Linked DNA regions of Homo sapiens: region 1 is linked to region 2. Evidence: promoter capture Hi-C in human tissues and cell types (Jung and others, 2019). All regions are on one chromosome and are shown on one strand. The core of a region is centred on a gene start or on the middle of the fragment in contact, and the rest is flanking DNA. Distances in the headings are between cores, read along the strand shown. Region 1 has its middle 300 kb from the start of TFPI. Region 2 holds the start of COL3A1 (collagen type III alpha 1 chain).

Region 1 (5,445 bases), core at 1,723-4,222, 1.1 Mb after region 2:
GCAACCTCCTTTTCATTTATTTGCCCATTCAATCTATCATCTCTAACATGTCAGCTCTAGTGTTTAAACACCATTAACACCTTTTTAGTTTAGTCTTTCATCATCCCTCTCTTGGATTATTACAAGAATACTTTGTTTAGCCCTCCTCCAATCTGGTTAATGCATTTAAAACTCACTGCTTCTTTCTCTTCCTGCAAAACTTCAGTGGTCCCTCTTTCAGGATTCAGCCTAAATGCTTTAAATGATTCCCAACCTTGTATAGAATTTGGCCTAGACTTTGCGTCACACCTTTCACCCACTATCTTAGCTAGCTCCTTTCAACAACTTGGATTTATCTGAAGCCACTATCCTATCTTTGATCTTGCTTTGAACATGATATTTCAGCTGCTTTTCCTAGCTAATTCCTACCTGTATTTTAAATTGTAGCTTGGATGTCCTTTTCCCAAGAAGTTTTCCTTGCCCATTTTCCCTTGTCAGCTATGGTTGTGTTCCACATAGCTGCTTCCACTATGCACTATACTAGCCCCATTAAAGCAATTATGGCATTATATAATTAGTGCCTTTTGAGAATTTTCTCCACTAATCTGTAAGCTCTGCAAGAGCATGAACTATGTTTATCTCATTCACAATCATAGCTCCAGAGCCAGTACATGTTAGGCACAGAGTAATTATTTGTTAGATAATTGAATAAAAATGAAGGACGGAAGAAAAATGTGAAACTGAAGACTACCCCCACAAAAAAGGCATAATGATATGTCAAACCATCTGTGTCCCACTCACTTCCTCTCCAGAATAAAAAGTAAAGTGATTTGGTTATCTGGGAAGTAGATTAGGAAGTGTAAGATTACGAGAAGTGCACATTTTCTTTAGAATATTAAATTTATATTAACTACTTACTAACCTTTGTTGACTGGCAAACAAGTAAAGGTTTTTGTACCATTTTAAGATCAATAAGTGTTCAGATGCTGTCAAAGCTTGGTGAAGTAGATTTACAGGTGTTTGGGTTACAAAGAGATAACACAATCAGTTTCCTTTGTCTCAAGCTTAAATTGCGGTCCAAGGATAGTCTCAAAGTTCACCTCCTTGAAGAAAAACAAAAGAGATTTCCTTACAAGCAAGGTTATGTAATATTTTCATCCACCAGATGGGATAAATGTTGTCACTTCATCTTTCTTACCATACCTTAGCGTTACAAAGTATGAACACATAACTCACTTCCATCTTTGGTTGTTATATTGATAAATGGAGAGTCATAGTGTTCAACACGGGAGCAAACTTGGTTTGGTGCACTTTCCAACCTTTTCTCTTTGTTTTATTAGGAAAACATTCTCTTTCTTTCACACTGGTAAAGATTCAAAGTACTTAACTGAAATATACTGAGTCTAATATGATTAAGCAGAAGTATATGGCAAAGCAAACATGCACACACACGCCAACACAAAACACAAAAACAAAAATATGTATTTTTCATTTCATTTTTCTCTTATTTCTGAGAATACATGTATTAGGCAATATTGCATTCTTTCATTTCTCCTTTATTCTCTTCTTCCCCTTAATTTTTCTGTCTTTTTGTATTTTAAATTATTTTCTTTTAGGTTATATATGATATTTCATGACAGAGAGGTGGTAGTAGGGACAGTTTGCAATATCAGAGCCAGTCAGAAGATTGCCTACCGATTTTTTGTGGGGAACAGACATGATAAGCCTCAGAGGTGATGCTGGTTACCTAAGTGGTGGCAACATGGAACCAACCTTCTTTCTCCCAAAGTCACAGCCATCTCTCTTATTTTCTGTCTTTCCTTAAATGCCACTCATCAATGAGATATTCTCTGGTCACTCTACATACAATATCAATCTCTCCATCCCCCAACTCTGTATTAGATTTATACACTTTTGTTTTCACCATGACTTTTAGAGTGATCTGAACTATACATATATTATATACTGATGAGTTTGTTTCCTGCTTTTCTCAGCTATAATATAAGCTCTAGGAGGGCAGAGACCTTGTGGTGTCTTTAGTTATATACTCAGGTATATAATGAACAGCTGTTTGAATGTAGTCATTAATTAATAAATATATGTTGACTTAATGAATAAATGTCCTTCTCTGAGGCTGAAAAGATTAGAAAAAGGTAAACTTACTAGAGACCTACAGTATTACCAAAAAAAAAAGTCAGTTGTAAGGACACAGAAATATAAAAATCTAAAAATTACAAATAGCTTTCACAATATTATCTTCTTATTCTAAGTTAATTTCAAATTTTGATTTCAAAAAAGCCAGACAGATTTTGAATATATTTGTACAATTAATATTGGAATAATTAAAATATGGCTAATTGCTATGGGGAATAATAAATACTACAGAAAGACATAGCCTTTGCCTTCAGTTAAGTATATGTATTTCAATTTTACTGTCATTCTACTACATGCTTAGCATTTCAAAACTTAAAAGTAGAGTTTATTTTATATATATATATATTTATTGTTATGATGATGATTATTTGAGACAAAGTCTGTCTCTGTTGCCCAGGCTGCTCTGCTCACTGCAACCTCCATCTCCTGTGTTCAAGCAATTCTCCTGCCTCAGACTCCCAAATAGCTGGGAATACAGGCACCTGCCACCACTTCTGGCTAATTTTTGTATTTTTAGTAGAGATGGAGTTTTGCCAGGCAGGCAGATCACGAGGTCGAGAGATGGAGACTATCCTGGCCAACATGATGAAACCCTATCTCTTCCAAAAATTGCAAAAATTAGCTGGGCATGGTGGTGCATGCCTGTAGTCCTAGCAACTCAAGAGGCTGAGGCAGTAGAGTCACTTGAACTCAGGAGGCGGAGGTTGCAGTGAGCCAAGATTGCGCCACTGCACTCTAGCTTGGCGACAGAGGAAGACTGTATCTCAAAAAAAAAAAAAAAAAAAAAAGAAGGTGATCTTAGGAAACTACAAAATTAGTAGCTGAACCAGAAGTAAGACTCTAACACTAATTTTTTTCTCTTTTTCAGGCTAAGTGGAATAAAAAGCTTAATGTTTAAAACATTAGTGTAATTTATGTCTAATGTAAACAATATTGTAAACATTAAGACTACAAAAATGGCAACATTTTAGCAGTTAATTTTTTTCAAGATAAATCTAATCCAATTCTAGAAATTTTAGGACTATAATGAACTTATTACTGCTTTTTCCTTAGAGCTATGTTTAACATTGTGTCATTGGTCAACGCTGCCTTTATTAAGAAGTCAAAGAATAATCATATATGATTATTCTTATTTACTTACTTCAGAGAACTTTAAGATAAAATTGCATTCTTTGGAATGGTAGAGACAATTTTCTTTTTTCATTTTTATTTTTATTTTTGAGAAATAAATAAATGCAAAGAAACAGTCAATGTTAGGTGTCTGACGTTTACTAACAGTAGGCCTTATTATTCAAAATTAATGCCAGAATATTTGTGATTCTATAGCAAAGGGATATTTTGAAAGATATTGTTGAAAAACAGAGTCAGTTTTTTTAAGTTCCTCTTAATGTCTCAACAGCCAGTCACAGCAAACTTAAACCTTAACTCAAAAGGTTGAGAGAACTCCAAGCATGACATAAGGAAAATCCCTTCTAGCCCTAAGAGTTTGCAGGATTGGAAAAACTGATAGAGATAAGGCACAGAGATAACCTCCCAAGTTCCAGCTTTCCCTTTTCTTGTGGAAGATTAGAGAAATCTACATTGTTATGAGAAATCCTGAGAATGTTGAAATGTTTTGCCTTGACATAACCTGGGAGAAGATGCAGGCCTCTAGGAGAAGTCTAAGGACAATGGCAGATCATTTTTTAAGTGATGATGTGTATTAACAACAACCCTATAAGGTATAGGTAGCATTATTTTGCAAATAAAGTAATGGTGAACAGTGACTTAGAGCGGCTTCCCCAAGATAATACATATAGTCTTCTGGAGTTGGGACTTCAAACTGGAGGCCATTCTCTAACCATAAAAATACACAGGCTTTCCAGAGGAAGTGTGATGAAGCTTCTCTTAGGTGAGTAGCATTAGATTATCAAAATGGTAATGCATTTAGGTGACATTTCAGAACTGAAATAGATATAAACCAATTTACCAACTAAAAGAGTAGAAAAGGGTAGAAAAGGATGGAGGAATTACTGTGATACGGAGTTCCAATGTAATCTTGCTTCATCATGCTAAGGTTATTGCTCTAGTACCATAGTGTCTTTTCAGTTATGTTCTAGATTTCGTACATCTAAGTTGAAGAATGTATGTTGTAGGAGTTGATCACATGACCTCATTACAGTGGGTTGCTAAAAGTCATTAAAGAATGGCTTGCAGCCGGCTGTGGTGGCTCACGCCTGTAATCCCAGGACTTTGGGAGACTGAGGCTGGCAGATCACAAGGTCAGGAGATCAAGACCAGCCTGGCCAATATGGTGAAACCCCGTGTCTACTAAAAATACAAAAATTAGTTGGGCATGGTGGCGGGCGCCTGTAATCCCAGCTACTTGGGAGGCAGAGGCAGGAGAATTGCTTGAACCCAGGAGGTAGAGGTTGCAGTGAGCCAAGATCGTGCCACTGCACTCCAGCCTGGGTGACAGAGTGACACTCTGTTTCAAAAAAAAAAAAAAAAAAGAATGGCTTGCAAAACCTGGAAACAATAGGACTAAAGGCAGAATGCCATATACATGACCCCCTCATAGATAAAACCCGATAAACTCTAAAGTGTTTTTTTCCAGTTCTGACTGCAGATTATAAATATTAGGGCTGTTTTTAAAAAATATGTATGCCTAACACCAAAAACACAATCCATGAAAGAAAGAACTGATAAGCTGGACTTCATTAAAATTAAAAATTTATAGTCTGCCAAAGGCACTGTCAAGAGAATGAAAAGACAACCCACACAGGGAGAATATATTTGCAAAAGGCTTATCTGATAAGGACTGTTATCCAAAATATACAAAGAACTCTGAAACTCAACAAAAAGCAAACAACTCACTTAAATGTGTGCCAAAATCTTTAATAGACACCTCACCAAATAATGTATGCAAGTGACAAAAAGGCATATGAAATGATGTTCCACATCGAAACAACAATGAGACATAACTACACCTTTATTAGAATGGCCAAAATCCAAAACATGACAACACAAATCCTGGCAAGGATGTAGATTAACCAGCATTTGTATTCATTGCTGGTGGGAATGCAAAATAATGCAGCTACTTAGGAAAGCAGTTTGGCAATTTCTTATGAAACTAAACATATTTTTACCATATGATCCAGCAATTACACTCCTTTGTATTTACACAAAGAAGTTGAAATCTCATGTCCACACAAAATCTTGCACATGAATGTTGATAGCAACTTATTTATAATTGCCAAAACTTGGAAGCAACCAAGATGTCCTTCAATAGGCGAGTTGACAAACTGTGTAACATCCAAACAATGAAATTTT
Region 2 (5,421 bases), core at 2,079-4,578:
TAATTATCTAAGACTGAACAGAATATTGGTCCTAGCCTTGACTCCGTCATTTTCTAGTTTTGTAATCTCAAATAAAGCACTGATCCATGTTAGGTGACTGACACTGAGATATGTGAGCAACTATGCATTCTCTCCCTTTAAAAGTGCAATTGTTCCTAAATGTATGTAACCTTTTCCTGTTAGTTCAGTGTGTTTAATTGTAGGGACAAACACAAACCAGAAAACTTGAATGTTACCTGAGCAAGTTACAAATTCCCTCTTAAAGCATAATGAAAAAAATATACTCTCATGACGTCTAATAAGAAACTGATTCTCTGAGTCCATTTACAGTTTTAAAATTCTAAAACAACTAGAGGCCTACAGTTTATTTTACTGGAATTATCACTGTAGCAAAATATAGAAACTCAAACATTAGTACACATTTAATTAAAATAAAGTTTCTGTTTCTGCCCTAATGGAGCAGTATTACTTAGTAACAGCTGTCTATAATCTATCTAACAATTAAGCAGTGAATAAAATACTTATGTCAAATAAGGACTACATCAGAGACATGAAAAATGTATTTAAACAATAGTCATATGTAGAATTTTTAAGTGGCCGTAACATTTAAGCTAATTTCCAAAAAGACTCTGAATATTGTTACCATTGTGTTTTCGTGTCAGTATATGTGTTTGCAATATTTATCCGTAACATACTAATTTCCTTAGGAGAGCAGTGTTAACATTTAAAATTCACGCATATGAATTTTTTAAAGCTCATTATAAACTACCAAAGCCAGCTACATAACATTAATATTGGCATTCGTTATGTAAATGGTAACCTGGCTTGTCAGCCACTAGGTGACGCATCTTTGTACTTAAAACTTGGCATGTTTATAATCTACAGGAAATATAAAACAGACTATGTTTCTCCATTGGTGGATTAAAACACATGAATTAAATACAATGTTCACAAATTTGTAAGACGACCAAAATTCTTTTTGAGGACTTGTTTGTATCCAGAAAATGCCTGTGAGTGAACTAGAAGTGAGTGTTCATTAGAGCTGTGCCGTCTCTGAAGTTATGAGGGCATATATAAGAAACCCCACCCCAGAACTTTATGACAGCTCTCAGTGTGCTGTATATTCAGATACCTCCTGTAACTTTTCCAAAGCTTATCTAATAGCAGAATTTCCTTGTAAAACCCACAGGGAACATAAGATGTACTGTCTTAAGTCACTTCAACTTTACTTTTACTCATGACAAAAAAAATAGGCTGAACAGTTCTCTTTCAACTCTTTTTGAGCTTAAGAACACACAAACACATATCAGCAAAATTTTATACTTATTGATTATTTTTTGCATCTAAAGAGAAAGAGGGAAATAAACAGAACTTAATGTGATGTCAAGGTACTGTAAGTGGCAAACACCCCCCCACTAAAGTTGGATTGGGAAGAAAAATAGCCACAGTGCTTATAAAAAGCTTGCAACCACGAGGCAACTACAAATATGTTGCAATTTTTTGAGCTAAAACCCCTAAGTTTGTAGTCTTTTCAATAAATGGTTGGTGGGGGATAGTAGTCATTTGGTATCCTAAAAAAGGACTGTGAGTTGTAGCATCTCCTGGGAAGAGCAGGATAGGGAGGAAAAGGGGAGAGGAATGAGAAAGGAAGAAGGATTGAGAGTTCAGGGGAAAGAAAGGGTGAGGAGGCAAGGAGAGAGAGAACTAAAAAAAAGAAATGGAGGCATAAGGAGGCCACATGGGGAGTAGGGAGGGAGTAACAGGCAGGGAAGACAGAGGAGGAGAGAGGAGTAGATATGGGCTTGCCTAGGAAGGGGTGGGGTGATGAGTGAAGAGAAGTCTAAAGGAGCCAAAAGGGGTGGAGAGAGATAAGGAGGAGGGCAAAGCGAAGGAGAGGAGGGGTAAGGAGGAGAGGAAATTAAGGGAACAAGGAAAATGGGTGTTTCTTTTCTTTTGTGTCCATGGGCTGAATATAACTGAAGACATTTCATTGTATATCTACCCCTCCCCTCATACACACATTTACATGTATTAGCTATGAGGACAACAAATACATTTGATATTACAAACAAAAACCAAATTTTCATGCAGTGTCCTTTGCAAAATCTATATGTTTAAATGTAACCATGTTTAGTTATGTGCAATAAAAATTGTCTAATAATTTCTCCTAGCTATCTTTACATTTAGCACTTAAATATTTATTTCTATGGAAGTTTGTATTCCAATTTGTTCAGCATTTTCATGACTATGGTAAATAAAAGAATATTTTCACATAAATAATGAGACAAATGTGTTTTTAGGGGAAATTAGAATATGAAAAACATTACATGCAATTATTAGAAAATATAGCAAAACAGCTTTCTGAAGTCAAACAGTACTAGTATCTTTACCTTGTTTGCAGCAAAGTCAAACCTCCTGTTGAAACATTTTAAAAAATATTTTCTTCATTAATGCGAATGTGGTTAAAACGTAGAATATGTGGAAAATATTAGTCCCTTAATATCAAGCTACTAGAAAAGATGAATTAATCAATCATTCTTGAAACAAAATAAAAACAGGAATAATAAAATATTTTAGCAGTTTGATCCCTTTGAAGAATGTTTATAGGTATCTTGTAGCCATTTTACAGAAATATATTCAATGATTCTGATAATGCGTAGAATCTTCCTTTAGACTGTTCTTAATCCATGATATTTGAAAGGCATTCTTATTCAGAAAACAATGCTCAATATTCTAACCTTACAAAGAATCCAGCAGACAAAGAGGAACATAAAATTATTGCAAGAGACCAATAACTTCCAGACTGCCTGGGGAAGTATTCCAAGATGTTAACAATCCAGGAGGGAAAAATTTTAAAGCCATTTTTAAAAGTTTCCAGTGCCTTTAACATGAAAACAAGTTAGTACAAGAACATCTTATCTTAACCACAGAACTCTTAAAAACACACATAACGCGATTATTTTTCAAGTAATGTAAAAAGCACAGCCATGGTCAGTTCAACGTTTCACAATCTGGAGCTTATAGAGGAAATTATCTTGAATCAGGCAACTGATTTTCCCCTTTACACCCCTCTTTGTGAGGAGAAGAAAGACAAAAATCCCATAAAGTTTCTTGAAATCAGTACCTACTCACCTTCCTGTTGTGCCAAAATAATAGTGGGATGAAGCAGAGCGAGAAGTAGCCAGCTCCCCTTTTGCACAAAGCTCATCATGTCTAAATATCAGACATGAGACTCTTTGTGCAAAAAGGAGAAAAGAAAAGCAGTTCAAAGTAGCACCATCAAGTTGTTCCCTGCCCTTCAGCACCGGGCCCGTCATAAAACTCAGCCACTGAGATTCCTTTGCTTTGGCCTTAAATAGGAAAAAGTTTGGCTTCCCTCACTTTCCAGCCCCTTTCTGAAATATGAGAGCCGCACCCATCCCCTCAGCAGTAAAAGAAATGATAAATATTTCTTTTTCCCTTATAGAAGACACAACCCACAGTAAGAAAAAGAGCACATCTGGAGTTTGTATGCATCTGCTTATGTAAAAGTTTTTTTACATATTTCACTCTTACATATATGTTTGTATAACTTAGGAACGTATAGAAATGCTCTGCCTTGTTTTAATACATACAATGTAAATGCATACATTTTTATTTCCCCTTATGAAGTTAACAACTGCATAATTTTGAAAAACTGCTTGATGCCCATTTATCTAGTATGTCTAATTTACAGAACTGATCTTCCTAGAAGATTTTTATGTTGGGATTTTGCCAGAAGTAATCCTAACTCAATTTAAATAGGAGACTGTAAGAGACTCACGGAAAGAAATGCCACCGTATGCCCCTTCGACTCATCCACCCACCCTGGGTCCTAGAAGTTAAGTTTCAGGCAAATATCAAAAGACAAAGTATTTCAGCAATGTTTGAATGGCTTCCTAAAAGTTAGATACTTATCTATAGCTGTTTCCATTTCTCACAAATTTCTTTAGCAAGCCAGAGTGCTTTCTTGTGAGATTTCCAATTTTTATGCTGCCTGGGAAAGACAGAGCAGATTTTTCTAGAGAAAAATTCAGCCTTTTCATGACATAACTTTTTAGGAAACTGGAAGAGAAAGAGTTTATCACATAGAATAGCAAAAGAGTACCAGAGAAAGTGGTCATTTTTTCTGCATTACTCTAAAGATTAGTATAAATATTTCTAATTTAGACTTTTATGTGTATACTTTCCAGATCCTCATCCACAAAACTTTCCAATGTATTTCTGGATCTATCTAAGCAGTAATTTTTGTGTCATATTTGAAAGAGGGGCAAATACCATTTATAGGTCTTTGATAAATCTCTGCAGGAAAAATATGCTTGTCCACAGTATAAGGCTATATCTGGCAATGGAGATATCTCTTTACACCCTAATCATCAGTTCATAGTTAGTTCATCTATCTCTATAATCTACGGTGGACATTTCAATTCTAATCAAGGTCACTTGAACTAATTTTCTTCACCTTCACCTAAACATGTCCGTCTCTATGCCTGTGCACATAAAATTCTCCCCATTTCACACCAATTAATGGAAGTCACTTCCTTATGCCTCAATGCAAAACTTTCCTCCTTAAGTAAATTACCTCCTTTAAACTAATTTTCATCTTTCTCTTTCTTCTAATTTGTGTTACTAAATTTTCACTCAACTCATGTCATATGTATATTCCCAGGTGTACATGAATCCTGTAAGCATGGACAGTGGCAAACTTGCTTTCTTGTTTCTTGCATCTTTTTTTTTTTTTTTTTTGCGACGGGGTCGCCCTCTCTCGCCCAGGCTAGACTGCAGTGGCGCAATCTCGGCTCACGGCAAGCTCCGCCTCCCGGGTTCACGCCATTCTCCTGCCTCAGCCTCCCGAGTAGCTGGGACTACAGGCGCCCGCCACTACGCCTGGTTAATTTTTTGTATTTTTAGTAGAGACGGGGTTTCACCGTGTTAGTCAGGATGGTCTTGATGTCCTGACCTCGTGATCCGCCCGCCTCGGCCTCCCAAGCTTTCTTATATCTTCAGTCACAAGGACACAAACCAAGACATCTCAATGTAGATGACATCATTTGATGACAGGAAAGGAAAACTAGAACGAGACCAACCTCTTGTGTATCTTTATTTTAGATTGGAGAGTCACTGCTTGGGGGCGTGGGAGAAAAGTAACTGTTGAGAATGGTCATGAATATAAGCTTTTCTACTGGATCACAGTAGAGATGCTGGGGAAAGGCTGTTATATGCATCTTTCTGTCTTTCAGACATCTTTGTCCTGTACACAAAAAATATTTCCTGTGTTCAAACCAATTCAGAAACATAGTTTTTCTCATGATGTCTTTGTATCTACGTAGAATTCATATATCTATATTAGATTTCTCTCATTGTTTTAGGTGGTCTATAAAAGCTGAAATTTATTGAATTTCT

Evidence for each region. Contacts are between HindIII fragments. The study calls those that stand out against the background at their distance.
Region 1: a contact is called between a fragment that was not itself captured here and the fragment with the promoter of COL3A1 in region 2, in 2 of the 25 tissues and cell types used here (heart left ventricle and stomach).

Annotation. Positions count from the first base shown.
Region 1 is chr2:187,853,210-187,858,654 of GRCh38, reverse strand. No RefSeq gene overlaps it. Among named protein-coding and RNA genes, the nearest start is that of TFPI, 300 kb to the right of the region's middle. The HindIII fragment of the contact is 3,926 bases long and covers 1,010-4,935 here.
Region 2 is chr2:188,972,280-188,977,700 of GRCh38, reverse strand. COL3A1 (collagen type III alpha 1 chain) reads right to left here and starts at 3,328. Exons shown (of 51, transcript NM_000090.4): 1 at 3,133-3,328. The coding sequence starts at 3,211. All of the region lies in intron 1 of LOC105373791 (a long non-coding RNA gene), which reads left to right. The HindIII fragment of the contact is 6,513 bases long and covers 1,308-5,421 here.